Regions from separate parts of the Homo sapiens genome. Here region 1 is linked to region 2. Evidence: promoter capture Hi-C in 16 types of primary human blood cells and fetal thymus (Javierre and others, 2016). All regions are on one chromosome and are shown on one strand. The core of a region is centred on a gene start or on the middle of the fragment in contact, and the rest is flanking DNA. Distances in the headings are between cores, read along the strand shown.

Region 1 (5,775 bases), core at 1,131-3,630, 460 kb after region 2:
AAGAATTAAGAAAGTGAATTTCAATCATTTGGGTAGTTTGAGGGAAACTACCTGATGTGGTACATAGAGCTTGGATTTTAGAACCCAAATGGTTTAAATACCAATGGTGGTATCTACAAGACAATCCTGGAGACACGGCAAACTCCTCTCCTCAATTTCTCATCCTTAAAATGGAGCGTAATAAACTACTTTGCAAAGTTGTTGTGATGATTATGGCCAATATCTGAAAAGCATCTAGCTAAATGCATGCAACAAGCTGGCTGCTTAATCACTCATATTATCAATGAGTTTCAGCTTATCCGATAATGGAGAGGTTCTGCCTTTTCATCTTTTTTGTGTGCCAACAGAGCTTATTTTACAGGATTAATACTGCTAGAGCAGGCCTGACTAGAAAATTCCCCAGGTCTACAAGGCAGAACATGTTCTTTTCCTTGGATCAAATTCACAATTATCTATGTTTATGTTTATCTGCTCAGTACCCATTTCCCCCTGTAGACCTGAAGCTCAGTCAGCATGAGACCACGTCTGTTTTGCTGCCCGCTGAACGCTCAAGGCTAGCAGACGACGGACACAGCGCCGAGTGCCTGGCCTTTGGTGTGGAACAAGTGAGTGAGGGCAGGAAAGAGAGAACCAGCACGCCTCCCAGAGGCCCTTCGCCTCTGAAATTATGGTCTGGCTTTGGACAAGTTGTACAACCTTTCCTTAGCCTGAGGTTCCTCCTCTACAAACAAGAATATCTGTACTGGAAACACAGAATTATAAGGATTAAAGAAAATAACCAAATTCACAAGCCTGTAAACTGTCTGTTAATGGGTCCTCAACAAACAGGAGCTGCCTGCATCCCTTTGATACAACCAGTGAGCCGTGAGGCAGACATGTTTGCTGAATGCTTTCTAAAAGCCAAGCACAGTGCTTAGCACTTTATATGCATTATTCTATCATTCACAACTTACAGCAACTCTAGAAAGAAGTGAATATTATCATTCCCATTTTATTTTTATTTTATTTTATTTTATTTTATTTTATTTTATTTTATTTTATTTTATTTTTTTAGATGGAGTTTTGCTCTTGTCACCCAGGCTGGAGTGCAGTGGCGCCATCTCGGCGCACTGCAACCTCCACCTCCTGGGTTCAAGCGATTCTCCTCCCTCAGCCTCCCGAGTAGCTGGTATTACAGGTGCCCCCCACCACACCCAGCTATCATTCCCATTTTATAGACTTGGAAACAGGCTAATGAGGTTACATAACTATTCCAGGTCGCACAGTGAGGAAATGGCAACTTCAACCTAAATCTGGGGGGCCAAAGTCCATGCTTCTTCCACCTCACCTCTACTTCACTATTTGCTTGTAAAAATCCACATGTCCAACCCATAAATGTACAGGTAGACAGCTATTAAATGAGGTATTTGCTGCCATTTGTGAATTATCTTAGATAGATAATTATCATAAACCATTCACCTAAACAACTAAAGAAAAGACAGGTCAATCCATATCCCTGCACACAAAGAGAAGGAACTCAGCAGTGAATTCCGTAAAACGAAAAAACCCTTTCCAATACCACTAAATCCAGATGTATTATTTATCAGTTTTTGTATTTGCACAGGGATTCTTAAAGCAGAAGGAACCTGCAATAATCATATCTCAGTTCCTTTCAAAATTTCCATATTAGCCAAAGTCATTTCCAGGAATAGATACAACTCATCAATTCTACAATGGAACATACTTGATCAAGAACCAAAAGCTTGTTCTATTTCAGAAAAACTACAGACCCCTCTTCTTTATTGTTCTTATAAAATCCCACCAGAACTCATTATCTTGCTGCCTGCTCATCTGGCAAACAAACATGGAGATGAGTCAACTCAAGCCAAGCGTCGTGCTGGGGAAAACTCACAGGGCCACGGAACCACATCTGCACTGTCCCCGCCCGCCCAGCATGGGAGCGCTGTTCCCCTTTCGCCGTGTCTTTGCTGACCTCTAGTGGTCCACAGGAAGAAAGAGCAAACAGCAAAAGGACAGGCTGCTCCAAAGAACAAAATGTCCTCACATTTTAAGTGAAAACATTTTATTTTATGAAATGTGTGTTTCTATACCCACCAGTGAAAAGAGATTCCCTGCATGCCCAATTGAGCAGCATTAACTTGCAAAGGCAACTCCAGTTGTTAACGGCAAGCCAGTCTCAAAGCCCTGCCCCCAGCTCCCAACCAAATTGTCTGCAATTCCACTGCTTCAGGCTTTCGGAGGGTCCGTTTAAAAGCACAGTCCACCCTCCACTGTCACAAAAGATGTCTCTTTACACCCTCCAATCTGATCATAACACTTGCCCATCGCAGAGTCACTTTATGGGGCAGGCATCAAGACAGTACTGGACAGGAGGTGTCAAGGCCAGTCCTTCCAGTGACCACATGAACTTGTTATCCTGTCATTTTACAGACCATACTATTAAGAGGCAGAGACACAGAGTGATTGTGCTCAAGGTTATGCAGCGAACAGGTGGCAACACAGGGGTGTGAACCTGAGCCCATCTGACAGCGCGACTCCACTGCGACTCCCAGCTTAGATTCCTTCAGGGATTCTCTCTTGCCCACCTGATGACTTTTATGCAAGACCTGTGACAGGAACTGACCTCAGCCTGCGTTGGGGCCTCTCTTCCCCACACTGTCCCTCACAAACAAAACTGCTATGATCCCCAAGTGACTTCTGTGCTCAGAGCTCACACCCAGCCACATGTTTACACCCAGTCTCTCTGCTCAGAGGCTCCTCAGCACCACTCTGCCGGGTACTTTTCACTCTCCTCAGAGAACACCTCCTCCGGGAAGCCCTCCACCCTCAGCACTTAGAGCATCAGGCTCCGGGGCAGGGACCACATCCTCATTGGCCCTGCAAATCTGTGGCCCGGCGCAGTGCTGAACCCCACGTAGGTCCCCCAAAAAGCATGTCAAATGAGAAGTATGATCCAGCTGTTGGTTCATTTGCCCGGCATCACTGGGGAGAACACCTCCCCTTGGGCGCCCAGGTAACTGAAGCTTCCACTTTGAAGTGTCAGGTTCCCGCTTCTGACCATCTTTACCAGAAACTTCAACATAAACTGCAAGATACGGACCTCTTCCTAATGCTCTTCTGATGACACACTGCCCCAGCGGTGGTGCTGTTTCCCTCATACTACGTGGCCTACAGCTTTGAGGGACTGTGGTGTTGTTTGTTTTTACTCGGTTTATGGGCTTTACTCTGTTCTGGTCGCTCCCTTTGGTGTGACACTGACACTTGCCACTTTGACTTATCGGCCTCCCTACCAACGTCTAATCTAGGAAATTAGCCAAGATGACGGGTCCAAGGGGCAGTAAATACACTTTACAGAAGAGGGAACTGAGGCACACAGAGGTTAAACATCTCGTCAAGGGAAGTGAAGCTGGAATGCCAACCCGAGCAGTCTGTATCCAGTCTGTGTGCTCAACTCTCATGCTAAAGCGCCTCTCTTTTTATAGACTATGGCTATAAACATTATAAAGTACCAAAATATGGACCAACTCTGAGATGGTGGTGACTGTTATTTTGTTTCTACTTAGGTTATCTGCTTTCAATTGAAAAAATTAAGAATCTCTGTAGTCAATGCGGCAACATTTCAACATATTAAATCTGGATGATAAGCATGAGTGTCTTATTATTAGTCATACTTCTTTGTGTGTTCAAAAGAGAAACTGATTTGAAAGTCTCTCTCCTCTCTCCTCCACCCCCTGCCCTGTCTCTCGCCTGAGCCCCCAGACCCACACCTCTCTCGTTATGTGAGAAGCTGAACCTCTCCTCTTTCCCTCCACCACTGCCTTGCAGCTTGCCCTCCTCGGAGCCCGGCCTGACCATCGGGCACCTAACAGAGCAACACTCCATTCCACCCGACCCACAGCCGGCCGCTGACCCTTTCCACGTAGACTCCCAAGCACGTTTCCAGCGGGCTGGCCTTCCTGCCAACAGCCCCAGTCCTTTGGGGAAGCTGTCAGCACTGCTCGCCTGGGCTCCCCAAGGGCCTCTGCAATGGGCCCCCTCCCTTCCTCTCCCTCCACTCCATACAAATCTGGTCACATCAGTCCCTGATGTTAAGACCTTGCCTTTTTTTTTTTTTTTTTTTTGAGACAAGAGTCTCACTCTGTCACCCAGACAGGAGTGCAGTGGTGTGATCTTGGCTCACTGCAAGCTCTGCCTCCCAGGTTCACGCCATTCTCCTGCCTCAGCCTCCTGAGTAGCTGGGACTACAAGCACCCGCCACCACGCCTGGCTAATTTTTTGTATTTTCAGTAGAGATGGGGTTTCACCATGTTATCCAGGATGGTCTCGATCTCCTGACCTCGTGATCTGCCCGCCTCAGCCTCCCAAAGTGCTGGGATTACAGGCGTGAGCCACTGCGCCTGGCCAAGACCTTGCTTTTAAAACCCGCCGCTCTTAGAAGCAGCCCCAAATGCTTCACCTGGCCGAGAAAGCCCTCCCGCTCAGACTCTGTCCTCCCTACCCCTCTCTTCCTCTCCCTCCCTCCCTCTCCTCCCCTACCTCTCCATCTCCCCATCTTTCTACCCCCACCGCCATCTCTGACTTTATTTGGTCTCTCCCAGTGATGTGTTCTGTTTCTGGGCATCACTCATGCTGAGCCATTTTCTTCCTGAATGACCTTCTCCCATCTCTTCTTTACCTGGCTATCTCCTATTCATCCTTCAAGGCCCAGTTCCAATCTCACTGACTTAGAGACTGTCCCTGGCCCCCACACCCTCCACCTCCATTAAACTAAGTTAAATCCTTTTGCCACTTCCTCCCTTGGCACCTGTACCTCCAATTTTTTTCCACTTACCCACTGCTCAATGTCTGCCTTTCCCACAAAACTGTCAGATGGATGAGGACAGGACCCACCTGCCTCAGCTCTCTTTCCCCCACCCTTAGCACAACGCCCTCCTAAGTATCTGCTGAATTACAGTGACCTACGTTCTCATACTCGTCTGGTGTCCTTAAGCAAATTGTTTAACTTGGTCTCAGTTTCCCTATCTATAAAGATCCAAGTTAAACTAACTAAATATCTAAAATCCTTCTAAGACTATCAATTTTAGGATTTAGCATTATCAATCCACAACTAAAGGTTTTAATGATTGTTTTATTAAAAATCCATTTAGATTCAGATTAAAGTATTATTTGCTGGGTTACCACTGTGTCAAAGGAGCTATATAAGTGCTTTCACAAACTGCATGTTTTATAAACCCAACACCCCAAACAGGGTTACAAATGGCAAGTACTTCATGAGTGACAATATCAAGACAAGAGGCGTAAAGCTTGTTGAAGGTTGCCAAGCTGGTAAAACACAGTTACTTCTCCAAAAAACAAACAAAAAAAATGCAAAGGACAGCAAGTTCTGAATTTTGAAAGTTAAATACCACAATGAAAGAAGTAAAATATACAAATAACCATGTTAATTAGAAATCAAGTTAAGATTCAACAGTTTTTATCATGGCATGCTGAACCTCAGCAAAACGAAATAAGCTGAATTCATAGTGAATCAATTCCGTAAGAACTGGATGAACTCTTCCACTTACAGGTAGACATACACTCACCTGTCGAAGGTTAATGTAAACTGCATTCTGAAGAAATTCTGATGCTTCCATGCTCCGTTTCTGAATTGCAAGGACACGTACAGCCTTGATGCACGCTTCCAACTCAATCACTCCCGCATTCTTATACTGCAGGGTGTAAAGGAAATGCCTCAGTCAAAAAAGAGTTCAGATGTTTCTGTCACATTCTAAAGGC
Region 2 (5,734 bases), core at 122-2,621:
GAACAGGTAATTTAAAGAAAACATTGAGCATCGTGAATGGCATATGCTAGGGGCTGAACAAGCATAACTTCACTTCTCTTATTTCTGGGACCTCCCAGATGCCTAAGAGGTGACAGCCAAGGGGGTGACACTCAGGAAGAGCTGAGACCCTTAAGCCTTCTACGCACTATCTTAATGCATGTTTACCCCTCCATCCCAACTCCTGAGATGGGAAGGCTTATAGTGTGGGGCAGTGGGGCTGCGCCAGCCGGGAGTTGATGTGTAACGTGAACAAGATACAGCCAAGGTGAGCAGTGGCAAGGCCAGCGCGCTCACACAACACGGTTCTCGCCAGTCAACTTCTCCCGTGGTGTCGGTAGGGCAGGTGGGTGGCTCAGGATCACAGGGAAAACAAGGGGGTCGATGACTAGAGCCAAGCCTTGGAAAGGGACTTCTGTTCTGCTTTCCAAGCAGCAATGCTCGCATCAGACAGGAGATAGTCACACCCCTCTTTTTTCCATCCTAGACATCAAACAGACAAAATGGTACCAGTGACAGATTAATATTCAAAGGCCATCTTGATCCTTCTAGACCCGTCAAATACAATAAGGAGCATCCCCCGTGTTTAGCCCCATGGAGGAGGGAACTTATTTTGCAATGAGATTTCGTTTTCAACCAATCCTAGTAACCGGCCTTCCAGAGCTGGAGCTCCCTTAGAAACCCAGCCTCATTCCACCGCTGTCTCATAGATGAGACCCTCTGAGGAGACGCTCAAAACAGGGAAGGAGGCGAAAACGGGGCCACCCAAGGGTTATGAGGATGAAATCACGACGACAGCAACACTGTTGAGTGCTCAGTGTACGCTGGACACCTGCATTAGCTCATTGACTCTGCACTCGGTGGTGCCCCCTTTCATAGGTATGGAAAAAGGCACATGCAGGGTGCCCACCCTGCTGGAATCAGCCCTCAGGTCATGGAGCCTGTTCCCTGTCTGTCCAGGAAGCAACCCCGAGGCCCTGGCTCTTGTCCTCCCACCTCCCAAACTGCCCCAAAGGGGTGAGGAAAAGAGCTTCTAGATGATTCTAACCCCACCTCTATAACCGCAAGCTGTGAGATCCTCGGGAAACACTTCGACCTCATGAGGCTCAGTTTTCTAATCTGAAAAATGAGAATATTAACCATAGACAACTGCCACTCACTGAACACCAGCTGCAGTAGAGCCGAGCATACACGTAATCCTCACCGCAACCATAGGAGCTGGATCCTGACATCCCCATCTCACAGAGGAGGAGACTGAGGTTAATGACGTGGCAAATATCCACAATGACAGTTTCTGCAAGTCTTTCCTAGTGCAATCACCCACAACCACAGCCCTAGAAAGAAGGATGAACACTCTTCCACAGAGGCTGGCACGCACCTTAAGGCAGGTGCCCACTGGAACCCTGTCTGTGGTGTCAAGGATTTTACAGTTGACCTTGAAGACCACCTAGTCCAAAGCTCTCATTGTACAAAAAGCCAAGCCCAGAGGTCACACAAAGCTTTGGACCTGAGCCTCTGGGCCCCGCGGTCTGGAAAGTGCTCCTTTCTCTGCATGCTACGGGGCTATCAACTTGAGCTGGTCCAGTCTGCAGATCTACATCCTGCCCGCCTGAGCAGAGGCGGGTGTGGGACCAGTGCGGATCTCCACGATTTGTCAGCCCATCCTGATAAGTCTGAGGCTCTGACCATCATATCTCATCACAGCATCATTAGGATTACAAGTGCCATGCGGTAGAAGAGGAAGGGAAACACGAACAAAAGGATGAGAAATTAAGCCCATTTCACCCGGAAAAGATGACTCTGATTTATTGCTCTATAGCAGCTGACGATGGCCTGTCAGAGAAATTCTGTGTTGAAAATAAAGAATAAAAATCACCCAGAGTTGTTTTGCCACACATCCAAATTAGAAAATGCTACTCTCCGGATGATTTATGCTTCAATTTTTTCCCTTATTCACAGAGAATTTGTCCAGCATTACAAGAGCACCTAAGAGCAATAATACAATTCAAAAGGAGATAGAAGAGGCCGCAGAGGTGTTGATGTGCGGCTGAGGGCGGGGTGCTGGCCCAAAGGCAGGGCTTTGGTGCTCAGAAGCATTGACCTTACAGGGAGGAACAAGGAGAAACCAGCCAGGCAGGCCCCGCAGGCAGCCCACAGAGCCACTTCGCCGTGCAGCCGAGGGAGTCCCGCACCACGGGGCCTCGCTCAGGGTAGCCACCATGGGAGAATGTCCCCACCTCGTGGATGTCAGGCTTGGCCACAGGTCCTTGGCCACGGGACCTGAGCAGAGTGACATATGCCACACTGGATCAGAAGCACGCTGGACCACCACGTGGTATGGCTCCCTTTCTTTCTCCCGTCATAAGTACAAGATGTTGGCTGACCTGACTCCTGGGGTAGAAATGTCATGTAGACACTGGGCGCGGTGGCTCACGCCTGTAATCCCAGCACTTTGGAAGGCCGAGGCAGGTGGATTGCCTGAGCTCAGGAGTTCGAGACCAGCCTGGACAACATGGTGAAACCCGTCTCTACTAATTTACAAAAAAAATTAGCCAGGTGTGTTGGCACATGCCTGTAGTCCCAGCTACGTGGGAGGCTGAGGCACGAGAATTGCCTGAACCCCAGAGGTGGAGGTTGCAGTGAGCCGAGATGGTACCTCTGCACTGCAGCCTGGGCAACAGAATGAGACTGTGTCTTCAAAAAAAAAAAGCACTGTCATGCAGGGCAGGGTCCCAAGGCCCCAGCCAACCTCTCGTTGACATGTAATGTAAGAAGATGTCAACTCATGCTTATAGTCACTGACATTTAGGAATAGTCTGTTACCACAGCATAAGCTGGTAAAAAAAAAAAAAAAAATCATACAGCTCTTCTTCCCGGAACGCCCCTGCACCTCTGCTCCGGTGCACAAATGCTTTCTCTTCAAGGCATGGCGCAAAAAAGCCACTACTTCCAGAAGCATCTCCTCATTCCCCGCCGGGAGCAACATCTCTCTTCTCGAGACCCCAGCCCCTCCGCTGTCTACCCATGGACTTCCTCAGTGTTTGTTTTTTGCATGATTCTTTGTGACCAAGCTGTTTCTCCAGCTGCCTTGAGGACATGCCCTAGGGAACAGTGCTCTGAATCGTACCTGGATTCTGTGCCTACCTGCTCCATCTAAAGCAGAAAACTCCACAACTAAGATCTCTTCTAACATTTAAGGAATAGAGCCTAATTAGCGCATGAATACGTGTTGAACTGTGAATGAATCAATGAGTATGGAAACTACATTATACGCAGTGCTGATAGAACCAAGTTGCCAAGGGAGATATCATCTCTCCTGCAGGAAGGAAGTCCTGCCTCCCACTGATCCACTCAGCGCACAGCCTTGAACAAAACAGAGCAAGAGTTATAACCTTCAGATGTGGGGGCAGAATAGGACCCATTTGGGCAGACACAGGCCACGGAAACCACAGGGCCAGCGTCTTGAGCCCTCGATCAGACGCCTCCCGCCCACCGCGGCCGCTTCTCCACGCTTTTGCCCAGATCTCTGCACCGCGTGGCCCGGTCTTGCCTCCCTGAGGACCACACTGGCTGCAACCCAAACTCGACTCTTCTACTTACACTTGCTCAGCATTTTTGTCATCCCTGCCCTTGGCCAATCCCTGTCTTGGTTTCTGCTCTTCCCACACAAAGTTTTGGGAATCAATTCATACATATTTGAGATTAACCAAAGTCCATGATCAGTTCTGGACCGCTATGGATTCCAGATCCACCTTACGTAGCCGTGTGAGCTCCGGTAAATTACATAACCCATCAAATTTCTTTATCTATAAAGCAGCAACAATAATGTCACGAAGGATTAAGGTAAAGATGAGAAATAGTATAGCAAAAGCATCTACTATGCTATGTGGTTGCTAGTAGGTGTCATCTATTATTTATAAACCTACATGATCGTAATACCATCCTGTCCATATTTCTCCATCCTTAGCTGCTACTACGTTATAGAAACCTCTGTGAGAAGTTATACTCAGCAGAATTCATTTTTGAAAACAAATTTTTTGTAAAACAGGTTAAGCTATGTGATTGCCTTCATTCATTCAACAAAATGCTTTGTGTGCCGACACTAACAGCCACTGTTTTAGGCAAATGTGGTTGAATCCCTGACTTCAAGTCCAATCAGAGAGAGACAGAGAGATTAGGCAAATGTGGCTGAATCCCTGACTTCAAGTCCAGTCAGAGAGAGAGAGAGAGAGAGAGAGAAGATGAGAGTAGCTGTACGCACAGCAGGAGCGTGCACAGGCTACCTGGCAGGGGTGTCTCCTGTCATTACAGTTAGCAGTGACAATAATGACAAATATTCTACCACCATCAATGACAATTTGCACAGACAATGGAAAACCTGGGCTCTTGAAACTTCATTCTTCCAATCTCTTGTAGGCCATGCACTGCTGACTGGCTTTCCTGGTGCTATTTCAGTGGTACTCATAGTGTAGAGAGAGTTTTTTACTTAATGATCAGCCCCTGTCTGAGTCATCACTTCTAAACCGCTCAGCAATTCTCTTTCAATCCTCTTCCACCTTCAGGAAACTGCCTTCCATCCGCCGAGGAATCTCCAGGCTGCACATGTGGCCACAGGAGGCCCCATCCCTGCAGACTGGGGAAGGCGCGCCCTTCTGATCTTGCAAGTAGACACATGGGGCCCAATCGCAAGGGTTCCTCGGTCAGTGTTCGCTCAGATAGGGGACATGGCTCTGGGCAGGACAGCGCTGGCCAAAGGACGAAGTGACTGACCTGCAGCCACTCAGACTCTCAGACTTGAGATAGGAGCCCCAGCACTGCCAAGTCCTACTTGTGGGCTGGGTCAAACCAGGTTAGCTTTCCGAGGTCTTGCCAGGACACCTGCTTCCCAGGCTTGTTGTGAGAATTAGGCAAGACAATGTTCACAGAGTCTCTGGTACATCACACGGAGAAGACAGAGGACCACAGGTATTCCCTAGGAGACCTGTCACTTCACTGCTCAGGATTTCAGCCCCTCCCGGTACGTGATCTCATGGGAGCCCCGAAAGACCAGACAAGACATCACCGTGCGAGAGAAGGTGCATGGTGAATGAAAGCCTACTGATGTCTGCGTGCAGGACCTTCTGTCCTAGAACCCCAAAATGGTAGACTCGGGGGTTCTTCAATGTAGTGGCTGCCAGGGAAGGAGAGGGGAAAGATTTCTAAAAAATTACACGTGCTTTTGTGTTTGGGAGCTCTCGCGTATCCTGTCTGCTTCTCAGGGTTACAGGGTGACCTGCCAGCTCTGAGACCTTTGACTATTTCCTCACCTCTCTGGGTCTCAATTTCCTCATCTATAAAATAAGAAAAAACGTCTATCCCATGACGTTCTTACAGGAATTCAATGAGAGAGAATGGACTGCGTGTGCAGACAGTCCCAGGCAAGTCCATGACCAGTGTGTTTGAGTCCTCCCCTCCCTTTCTAGCTCCTTGCCTATAAAAAAGAGAGAAGAGGATGGTATCTAGCTTCCTTCCCAGAGCTCCAAGCTGGGAAACAGGGATATGATATGATATGGCATTTTTGTGAAAAGCATCTCTTAGTTAAAATATGCTTCTTCAGTCTTTGCTTTTTTTTTTTTTTTTTTTTTACATTTGTTCTAAGCTCAACTTATTTGCCGTATGAACTCGGGCAAGTCACTTGATGACAGTAACAAAAGAATTATTTTGCTATTATAGCCTA

What was found. Contacts are between HindIII fragments. The CHiCAGO score rates a contact against its expected background, and 5 or more counts as called.
Region 1: a fragment that was not itself captured here is called in contact with the fragment with the promoter of C8orf17 in region 2 in 1 of 17 cell types (megakaryocytes); the score reaches 5.2 in megakaryocytes.

The regions. Positions count from the first base shown.
Region 1 is chr8:140,392,038-140,397,812 of GRCh38, forward strand. It overlaps TRAPPC9 (trafficking protein particle complex subunit 9), which reads right to left. Exons shown (of 23, transcript NM_001160372.4): 7 at 5,583-5,708. Among named protein-coding and RNA genes, the nearest start is that of TRAPPC9, 63 kb to the right of the region's middle. The HindIII fragment of the contact is 1,282 bases long and covers 1,740-3,021 here.
Region 2 is chr8:139,930,049-139,935,782 of GRCh38, forward strand. C8orf17 (chromosome 8 putative open reading frame 17) reads left to right here and starts at 1,372. Exons shown (of 1, transcript NR_172942.1): 1 at 1,372-3,896. The region is part of intron 19 of TRAPPC9 (trafficking protein particle complex subunit 9); the gene reads right to left. The HindIII fragment of the contact is 2,245 bases long and covers 1-1,515 here.